Regions from separate parts of the Homo sapiens genome. Here all the other regions are linked to region 1. Evidence: promoter capture Hi-C in 16 types of primary human blood cells and fetal thymus (Javierre and others, 2016). All regions are on one chromosome and are shown on one strand. Each heading gives the region's core, a stretch centred on a gene start or on the middle of the fragment in contact. The rest is flanking DNA. Distances are from core to core; before and after follow the strand shown. Region 1 holds the start of IBTK (inhibitor of Bruton tyrosine kinase). Region 2 overlaps PHIP (PHIP subunit of CUL4-Ring ligase complex). Region 3 overlaps HMGN3-AS1 (HMGN3 antisense RNA 1).

Region 1 (3,328 bases), core at 1-2,500:
GTCTCGATCTCCTGACCTCGTGATCCGCCCGCCTCGGCCTCCCACATTGCTGGGATTACAGGCGTGAGCCACCGCGCCCGGCCAACTTAAGCTTATTTTCAAAACCACTCAATTTTGACATTACAAACTGGTTTTTGTTTTGTAGAAGGACATTAAGAATAAAGAGCAAAGAAACAATTATGTGCTGGGAAGGGCAGTAGGAGGGCTGGGTCCTAGTCTCCCTTTCTCTTTCGCTAAGCAGCTGTGTGGCTTTGGGCTAGTAACCTACCCTCCCACAAAAAAGGCTTCAAAAGAGAGCAAGCAGAGCTCAGTGGGCATTAAGACATGCGCAACTCCTTTCTTTTAGAGATTAGATGAGGTCGACTCAGTGGCTTGTAAAACTCAACGTGGCAGAGCTGTACAGCCAACTCATGATTCTTAGTGTCGTTTGTTTTGAGTCACACTACACCTCCTTGAACAATCATTTACTGAGTGCTTACCGTATTAGGCATTCAGCAGCAGTGTGTTTCCCATTCAGTAACCTAGTATTGATTATTGGCTACTGTCCCTCCTAGCATTTTTCACTTGACCACTTTCTAAATGGCCTTTAGATTCAGAGTTCAAGTGGAAAAAGCCTAGTGTAAGCCTGGTGTCAGGCAGTGAGTGGCGTGACCCGGGTCGGCAGCTAGTCCTACGGTGGTGATCTAAGAGGGCAGTGACGCCTTCTGACCAAGGGAGTGACTGCCAGATAATCCGGGTGTATGGAGATCCAGAGAGGGGTGAGGCTGGGTTTACGGAGACTACACCTTTGGCTTTGCAGTAACCCCACTGCTAAGGCCATGGGAGGAAACTCTTCTGTGCAGGACGCCTATGCACTTGGCTTCTGCTGCGTAGCGACCGGGTGTCCAAGGCATCCTGCCAGGTCTCCTTCTCCACTCGGGTTTAGCCTCCCCCGCGAGTCTCCAGCTACCTAGAGAGACGTTTCTAACTACGAGATGGCTGGCCTGAAAGGGACACTCCCATCACCGTTGTTGGCCTAGAGTTCCCCGCTGCGGCCTTTTTCTTTTCCCCGCCCCTGGCCTGAGTCAGCGGCCCCAAGGCCGGCGAGGTCAAGTTCCTTTGGGGCGCCAGGGAAAAGGCCATGGCAGAGGTGCTGCCACGCGAAACCTTCTGGGCAGGCACCAGCCAATCATCAAGAGACATACAGGAGCCCCAGCCAACCAGCGCCCGCCTTATTACTGGGAACCGCCCGCTCGGGCCCTTCCTCTACATCCCCGTTCCCGATTCCTGTAGTAGCGGCTGTATTGCAGCCGCCTGCCGAACTGACCCGGGTCTGGGGACTGGCCCCTCTGGCGCCGTTCGGTTTCTCTTATTGCCTTCACTGAGGATGAGTCCCTTTGTGGCTCTATGTGGACCCTGCGGAATCCACCGGCGCAGTTTCATCTAGCGACTGGTGAGGGAGGGCTTGGCGCTGCCCGACCGTGCGGTGCGGCTTCCCTTCAGCCCGGGGGCAGGGGGAGAGTATTCGCCTTCTGGAGGGTGCGGGTGGCTGCGGACGGCGGCGCGGGGGGACCGTGGGGAGGGGACTCTGTGGCCCCGAGGCTGCCGGGCTTCGCGCGAGGCGGCGCGGAGAGGGCCGAGTGGCCAGGGTCCCTACCGCCCCCCTCAGCTAATGAATGGCCTGTCCCGGCGATGCGCTACGCTCCCGTCCTGCTGGACACGCCCTCCAGCGACATTGCATTCCTAGTTGTGATAGTTATGTAGTGTCACTTTCCTTCGAGTCTTGGATTTGAAGCCATTCCTGTGGGCGCTCATGTTCCTTATCCCCTTCCTGGAGTCACAAGTTTGAGTCCACCCTGGGGATACTGACTCTGGGGAAGCAGGTCGTGAAATCTGATAAGTGGACATTGATTGCTATGTAAAAAGGAACTGATTCTTTTTGGAGGGTGGAGGGTTGAGAGAGACAGAGAAGACAGGCCCTTTGTTTTTGTAACAGGCAGAGCTGTCTGGCTCAAAGAGTTTTAGTTCAGCTGCGAATTAGGTAACATAGGCCGTCCTTGACTCCTGTTTTCCAACGTAGTTCATAAAACTTGACTGTGTTAGCCAGAGATTCATGTAGCACCTTTTAACTTATGCCTCGAAGTAGGCCATTTGAAATTTATCAGAAATACTGAAAGGATATGACTTTTATGAGTAGTAGTGTTTCAGTGCCCATAAAGTGGTGTAAATTCACAGGCTTGCCAGCCCCCTCTTGATCATTTCTCTTTTTGTATTTTGAATTCCTTAACTTTTATTTGTTTTAGAAATTGAGGCAAGGTAGATGAGGACAAAACTGGTTTCTAAAAATAATTACATTTGCAAATATTTGCAGAAGCTTTAGTCAAACCAGAGTTTACTTCAAGAAATTTTTTAGGCCGGGCGCGGTGGCTCACGCCTGTAATCCCAGCTACTGGGGAGGCTGAGAATTGCTTGAACCCGGGAGGTGGAGGTTGCAGTGAGCCGAGATCGCGCCGCTGCACTCCATCCTGGGCGACTGAGTGTGGCACCATCTCAAAAAAAAAAAAAAAAAAAAAGATGCCTGTAATCCCAGCAGTCTGGGAGGCCAAGGTGGGCGGATCACTTGAGGTCAGGAGTTCGAGGCCAACTTGGTGAAACCCCGTCTCTACCAAAAATACAAAAAAATCAGCCAGGCATGGTGATGTGTGCCTGTAATCCCAGCTACTCGGGAGGCTGAGGCAGAATCGCTTGAGTCTCCAGCTGCCCTACCAAACTGCTTTTGAATTCAATTATTTTGAATTGAATTCCATGGTACTTTTTTCTACTACACTATACTACTTGCATTGAAATTTTTCTAACTGCCTTTTGGGAGAGCAGTTTGGTAGCATAGAATAGGTGGGATCAAGAGCACTTTTCTGTCGGTATTATTTTAGGTAGGCTTTTTAAACTTTCACATGAATCTCCTCATCAGAAAATGAAAGTGATCATATTTACAGGGGCAATAATAAGGATTATATTTATGTAGAGCACTGTGTATAATGTATAAAACAAAATTTCACCTATAATTTTTGTGTGTTTTTTCCGTTGTTTAATTTTGTTTTGCTTTACTCACTTCCAAAGTATTGACCCCTTACTCTTCTTTCTAGTTTCCCTATCTGTTCTCCAAGCCAGAAACCTGGGAATTACCACCACATCTTGTCAATTCAAGATCCTAAGTATGTCTTTGGATTGCCTGCCCTTTTTTTTTTAAATCTCTAAGAAAAGGCACATAAGGCTGTTCAAAATCCTGTCTATCCTTGTGTGTATGTTAGGCCTCACTTCTTTCTGTCTTCTGAATTATTTAGAAATTTTG
Region 2 (3,328 bases), core at 374-2,873, 3.2 Mb after region 1:
TCATCCATCAAACTGTATATCTAGGTGTGTGAGTTAACTTTATTTTACCTTTTTAGTTGAGATTTAGTTAGGTCTAAAAACATTTGGAACACTGGATTTTTTTGTTCAATAGTTGATCTCGCTGTTTAATATCTAAGTCAGCACATGCAAAGTCTCTTGTACAGTATTTTCTATTTTAATTATTCTGACTTAAAAAGTTTTACGTTGTTGTATATCGAGTTGAATTTATTTAACATTGATTTGAAAATTACTTGTTGAGTCATTAGTTTCTACTCTACCTGGAAATGATTTGTTGTATTAACTAATAAACTGAGCAATATTTTAAATGGGAGAACTCATATATCACATCGCATTGAAATTTCTAGGAAACCTCAAATTATTGCTGCTTAAAATGGGGTGTAATATTTGTAGATGTGAATTTAAAAATAGTCACTGATCATCTGTAGTTAGTCTAGTTACAATCGCAATGGTTGAATTTTAATCAAGAGGAAAGTAGAATTTTAAGAGCAGTTTTAAAAGTTTGCAGGTTAAAATTGATGCGTTCATTTCAAGTGTGATTGAGAAAGGAAATGGTCGTATCTTATGGTTGTTTCTGTCTCTGGTATAAAACATGACTGATTATCACCATCTACCTTAAGATTTAAAACATTTTTAACAAAGTAAATGGAATTGGATAGGAAGCTAAAAGTTGTTTTTGGTACTATGGTATACGTTTAATTAGATTTTACATTTTTTAAAATATGAGATTTATTTTAAAGAAAAGGGGCACTTTTTCCAAGTATCAGAATTCTTAAACTGTAGAATAAAAAACTTTTTTTGGACGAAAGGAAAGCTTTGTCATTTGTTTATTTCTTAGTTTGAATAGTGAATCTAGTTAGTTTATTAAGTCTGCTTTCTAGTTGTCACTTAATGATGATTGCATATTTACGAGATCTAGAGGCAGAATTTTCAAGCATTTTACCGAATTTGGCACTCTCTTGATTACATTTTTTCTTGTAAGACTTCTCTTTTTTCCCCCCAAGAACTAGTTCATGTTTTGCCAATCTGTTAAAATGATTTAATTTTTTCCTTGTAAAATAGTGATACTTGCCTTTCTTAAAATTATTCCACTTTATTAGAAATCTTTTTTGTTTGTTTGCTTGTTTGTTTTAAGTGAAAGGATTGGGAGTCAGGAGATGTGGATTGTGGTTTTAAGCCCCGCTGACAGTTAAACTGTAGGTAATCTTGGGCAAGTCATGGAATTTCTCTTTGTCCCAGTTATCTCATTTGAAAAATAAGTGGATTGAAATTTTTTCAATCTGAAAATCTGTGATTTTGAACTAGAAATAGCAGTACATTGTATTTAAGAACTAAGCTTTATTTCATTCTTAGAGCTTAGTTTTCCAAAACACAGAAAAGTAGAAATCACATAGGTTACAAAATTATATAAATGCTTTTCATAGTGCCATTCTTTGGTGGTAATATCATTTCTTGTTGCAAAGATGATTTGAGACACTAACTACGTTGTAAAATGCCCCAAAATTACCATGATTTCCATCATAGTTTAAGTACTAGTTTTCATTATTGTTGGTCTCAAATTCAGAGATGAATAGGAATGATGGATAGGATTTATTTAAGTATATATCTTAGGTATACATTTATTTAGTGTGTGCTGATTAATGTGAAAGTTAAGGTATAAAACCTAGAGACAACTTTCAGGGAAAAAAAAAAGATATCATATTAAATGTTTTAGAAGTAGGGATTCCCATTCTATATTGAAGATAACATAGTTTCAACACTTGATTATTATAATTTTTTGGGGTTGGGTGAACATGTAATAAAGTAAATGTGTGTAGTTGTAGTAGAGTTACTATTTCCTTTTTTAGTAGAGTATCAATGAAATAGAAGCTTTGCGTGGTAGTCTCTAAAACAGCTTTAATCTCATATGGTCGTTATAATGATGAATAAAATATGTTAGGCGTGAAGGGTTATATGATGAATAAAATGTTAGGTGTGAATATGTTGCTGAGAGGCTGAAGGAGCATTCTTCATTCTTTCTTACATATAGAATTATTCTATTGATGCTTATACCATTTTTTAAAATTTGAGGCATTTACAAACTTTTTAAATGCAATACTTACTATATTGTTAATATTCTTAAATAGTTGTAAAGCGGCATGAGCATAAAGCGGGAGCTGGAATGTCCCTTTCCCAAACCATAATGGTTTTTATTTGATTGTTGTGAGGCAGAATCGTATTGAGGGAGTCTGTTTTCCATTCTGTAAAATGGGCTAATAATAGCTTCTACTTTGTGTGGTCTGTGAGTAATAACTGGCATGAATCAAGTACTATGTAAGGGTTTTGGTTTGCTATTATCAGAACTTTAGTAGTGGTAGTAAAGGTTGTTCTGCTTAGAGCTTTATAATAAAGTTTTCTTTAAGAAAAGCATTTACATTTTTATTCCAGGCACAAGTATGTATATACTTTCTGAACATAGAATCTGCAGTATAAAAAGGCCACATTAAAACTTCAGAAGAGTCCAGGTGTGGTGGCTCATGCCTGTAATCCCAGTACTTTGGGAGGCCATGAGTTGGAGACCAGCCTGGACAAAATGGAAAACCCCATCTCTACAAAAACTAAAAAAAAAAATTAGCCAGGTGTAGTGGCGCATGCCTGTAGTCCCAATTACCCCGAAGGCTGAGGTGAGAGGATCGCCTGAGCCCAGGGAGGTTGAAGCTGCAATAAGCTGTGCCCCATGCCACTGCCCTCCAGCGTGGGTGACACAGTGATACCCTGTCTCAAGAAAAGAAAAAAAAAATCTTCGGAAGATACTATAATTACTTTATAGACTCAAGGATGAAACAGGTCTAAAAAATAAAGGAAAAATGTTTAATACCAAAAATAAATCATGGTTAAGGCATTGTGGATAGACCTCTGGAAAAATTGTGCTACTGATTTCTACTGTGACTTGTTTTTATGGAACACTGAACATTAAGAAATAATTTGGGTGGTTGACATATCCTGAATGGATTAGAGAATATGCAAAGCTTTTTTTCTTTGGGTAATCATCAAATGACATTTAGGAATATATGAAGAGAATTTGGCTATGGCGTCTGCCTCCTTCTATACAGTTATTTGTGAGATTTACAACCATCACAATAGTTTGTATTCTTTTTGGAAACTGTCAGAGAAGAGATGTCTTGACTTCTGTTTTGTCAATCTGTTTATATATATTTTAAACAGAATTCAAGAAAGACTTTAGCTTTAGGTAAAATAAATCCTAACCGATTTCAGTTTTTTAGTTGATTCAGAATTTCTTTGTAAGTTAGTTTTTGGTTTTCTTTTTTTT
Region 3 (3,328 bases), core at 311-2,810, 3.0 Mb after region 1:
TGGAAAAACTGTGTAAAACATACCTGGGGTAAAGAATCTGCACAAATATTAAATTTGATTGAAGGTTGGGAAAACAAAGAGTGGGTTCCTTGGAAGGTCACAGAATGCCCTGGTTCCTCTTGCTGTTAATGCAGTTGTGAAGTATGCTTATGCAATCATTGACATTTAGCCTTGAAAGGGTGTGGCTTATGGGCTTTGGCCAAGGTAAGTTCCCTTTGAGGATTTGGGATCAGGGATTTTCATCTCCCAGGGGCCCAAGGAGCTGCCTAGAGGGGCTGCCTGGGAAGAAGAAGACACTTTTCTAGGTATCTGGATGTGTGCAGTTTTTAATCACTCTTCAGGTTCCTTGCAACTACAGAAGAGAAAGAAAGTGAAATAAACAGGTTGTGCCCAGCAAAACTGAGATGGAGCAAAAGCATGAGGTGAGGACTGTGGGGCGAGTTTCACCCACAGAATTACGCTCCTGCTCTGGAAGTATGTTGAGAACTCCACAGGCTTTTATAGATACCTGTCATCAGAATCCAAGTACCGGCATTCAGCAAATATTTGTTGAGAGCAAGGGCCTAGTCTATTAAATACTCTAGTCCCCGAATTATAGTGTAAGCAACACATGAAAAGCTTGTTTGAAAATGCAGATTTCCAAGCCTAGCCATTCAATACCTTGGGACTGGGGCCTAGGGATCTGCACTAATATCAGGCAGCTCATTTGATTTGGGACCGTTAGTTCTTGGACTCTTATTGTTGCTTTGTAAAAACTAACCTTGGTCTCTTCAAAAGTTAGCACCCAATCAAAGTAGAGACTTGACTGGAAAATACAAACAAAATATTCTTTTGCCACCTCTTATTTGTTGTTTTTGATGTTGTTTTGTTACACACCTGAATTCTTCACTGTGTATTTTTTGACCTATTTATGGAAGATTAGTAACTTAATCTGGAATTACAAACTATCAGAAGCAACACAGTATCATTTTCACTTTTCCCCTTTCTTCCTTTCTCCCTCTGTCTGTCTCTCTCTCTCTCTCTCTCTGTGTGTGTGTGTGTGTGTGTGTGTGTCTGTCTGCCAATGTCTCTGTCTCTTTCTTTGCCTTAATGATAGTCATGACTATCATTTGTTTTGCCCTGCTGTCTGAAAAATGCAAAGTAGGTGTACAGTTGCAACTATCAAAAGCAACAATATGTACATTCTGGATCTGACTTCTCCAGTAATTTGTCATTACTTACAGCAAAAGCCTAAGGGACCCTGCCTGTGTCTGCCTGAAAGAGGAAAAGAGGGACAGTTCAAGAAGGAGGTGATCTGCAAGTCATTCTTTCCCTTGAAAACTTCCTCTCAAGCCTGGTGTGGTGGCTTGCACCTATATAACTACTCAGGAGGCTGAGGCAGGAGGATCTCTTCAGCCCAGCAGTCTGACGTGCAGTGAGCTATGATTGTGCCACTGCATGCCAGCCTGGGCAACAGAATGAGATCTTACCTCTAAAAAAAAAATTTTAATATTAAGCATTTTTTTTTCGGAATGTCAAAGATCCACAACATTCATTAGCAGTGGCATTCAATTTTTTTGACCAAGACCATACTAAAAATATATTTCATGTCACAATCCAACATACACACATACATATCTGTGTTGTGTATGTGTTTATATGAGCACATATGGAAAATAGAAACAATTATCTTATGAAACATTACTTACCTTTACCATATATACTCTGCTATTTTCTATGCTTGGCCCTTTCTTTGCTTTTCTTAGCCTTCCCTTCTCCCTTCTCCCTCTCTCTCTCTCTCTCTCTGTGTGTGTGTTTGCGTGTGTGTGTCTGTCAATGTCTCTGTCTCTTTCTTTTCCTTAATGATAGTCATGACACTATAAATGGTTTTGCCCTGCTGATTGAAAAATGTGAAGTAGGTGTACAGTTCCAACAGTTTTGAGTAGGACAAAAGAGGAGAGGAGCTGGAATTGGAAAACAAGTTTGTTCACTATTTTTTTTCTTTCTGTCTCAGTCAGTAACTCTGTTAATTTATCCAGGTCTACCTTAGCTAAGATAGTATATACATCCTACTTTTACTGTCTTAGAGGCTGATATTCCAAAGTAGTAGAAATGCTCAGTGGAATATATTGATAAACAAATGAGTCTGTACTTCTTACCAGCTTGACCTCCTCACTGTCTTCTATGTGACACCCTCATTTCTGCCCAGATGTCTTTATCTCTTAACCTAGAATTCTAGCTACCTGCTAAATCATTCTCTTTGCCTACTCTTCTTACCTCCAGGGCCACCAGTAGAGGTTTGCACTGACTTTCCCAGATCTTGAAGGCTACTAAAGGTACAAGGGAGAACACTTCATTTCCTAGAGTAGTGCTCAGCCAGGTGCAATCTACATCAAAGGAAAGATAAGCAATGCTGTTGTTTTTCAACCGAAGCTGTTATTTTCATAACTTGTAAATGAACTAAAGATTCCAAGAACTCGAGGTCCTCACAATCAGCTTTCTTCATCCAACAAGCAAGCTTCAATTTCATCGTAGCATTTTTATTGTGTGCAGTAAAAACATTCACAATTTTGTTTGCTGTTGATGATCTGAGTGTTTGGTTTTGAAAAAAAATTAACAAAGAAGCCAATTTTGTGAGTTATTTTTCATCACAGAGGAGAAATATTCACCTTAGCACTACCTTTGTTGTGGCACCTTTCCATCTCCATGAAGAAAAATAGCCATCCAGTCCAGATTGCAAGTGCTACTCAGTATCCTTCTCACACATATCTTACTAAAAATGTTTTCACTGACTTTTTCTTTATTTAACTATCAAGTATTTGGCAAATTAATATCTTGAAAGACATCTTCATTATAAATATTATTTTAATGATAAAATTATTAACTTGTAAATTTTTATCTAGCTCTAAGCAATTGGTTTTTATCTTAATTCGTTTCAGTATACTATTGTCATTCACTGAATGCCCAAGAACAGGGAATCTATCAAAAATGATTAAGATCATGTCAAAAGGACACAAGCACTAATTTGAAAGGGTATGCATTGGCTAAAGATGTGGTAATAGGAGCATTAAAAAGGTAATAATAATGATAGCAATACACTGATGCACACCAAATATGTAAAAATCCATGAGTTCATAAAGATGTTCCAAAAAAGAAAGTAATCAACCACCTCTGGAGAGTACTAGATCAATTAATGTATTCTGAAAATTACTAAAGAAAAAGTGAAATATTAAACTTCATTGCTTTTTTAATACATATTTAATACATGATATTTTTAATACATATTTGCAGCCTCTGTGTTACCAAAGTGGATTTGGCCATATTTGTAATGTAAGGCTTCAACACATTT

The links. Contacts are between HindIII fragments. The CHiCAGO score rates a contact against its expected background, and 5 or more counts as called.
Region 2: a contact is called between a fragment that was not itself captured here and the fragment with the promoter of IBTK in region 1, in 2 of 17 cell types (activated CD4 T cells and fetal thymus). The highest score is 8.3, in activated CD4 T cells.
Region 3: a contact is called between a fragment that was not itself captured here and the fragment with the promoter of IBTK in region 1, in 2 of 17 cell types (activated CD4 T cells and total B cells). The highest score is 6.5, in activated CD4 T cells.

What each region holds. Positions count from the first base shown.
Region 1 is chr6:82,245,666-82,248,993 of GRCh38, reverse strand. It overlaps IBTK (inhibitor of Bruton tyrosine kinase), which reads left to right and starts at 1,250. Exons shown (of 29, transcript NM_015525.4): 1 at 1,250-1,432. RefSeq lists a silencer at 1,448-1,617. The HindIII fragment of the contact is 2,262 bases long and covers 94-2,355 here.
Region 2 is chr6:79,071,951-79,075,278 of GRCh38, reverse strand. The region is part of intron 4 of PHIP (PHIP subunit of CUL4-Ring ligase complex); the gene reads left to right. LOC124901346 (a long non-coding RNA gene) reads right to left here. Exons shown (of 2, transcript XR_007059652.1): 2 at 1-3,328. Among named protein-coding and RNA genes, the nearest start is that of PHIP, 4.6 kb to the left of the region's middle. The HindIII fragment of the contact is 533 bases long and covers 1,357-1,889 here.
Region 3 is chr6:79,235,973-79,239,300 of GRCh38, reverse strand. HMGN3-AS1 (HMGN3 antisense RNA 1) reads right to left here. Exons shown (of 2, transcript NR_040671.1): 2 at 2,501-3,328. Among named protein-coding and RNA genes, the nearest start is that of HMGN3, 3.0 kb to the right of the region's middle. The HindIII fragment of the contact is 1,879 bases long and covers 621-2,499 here.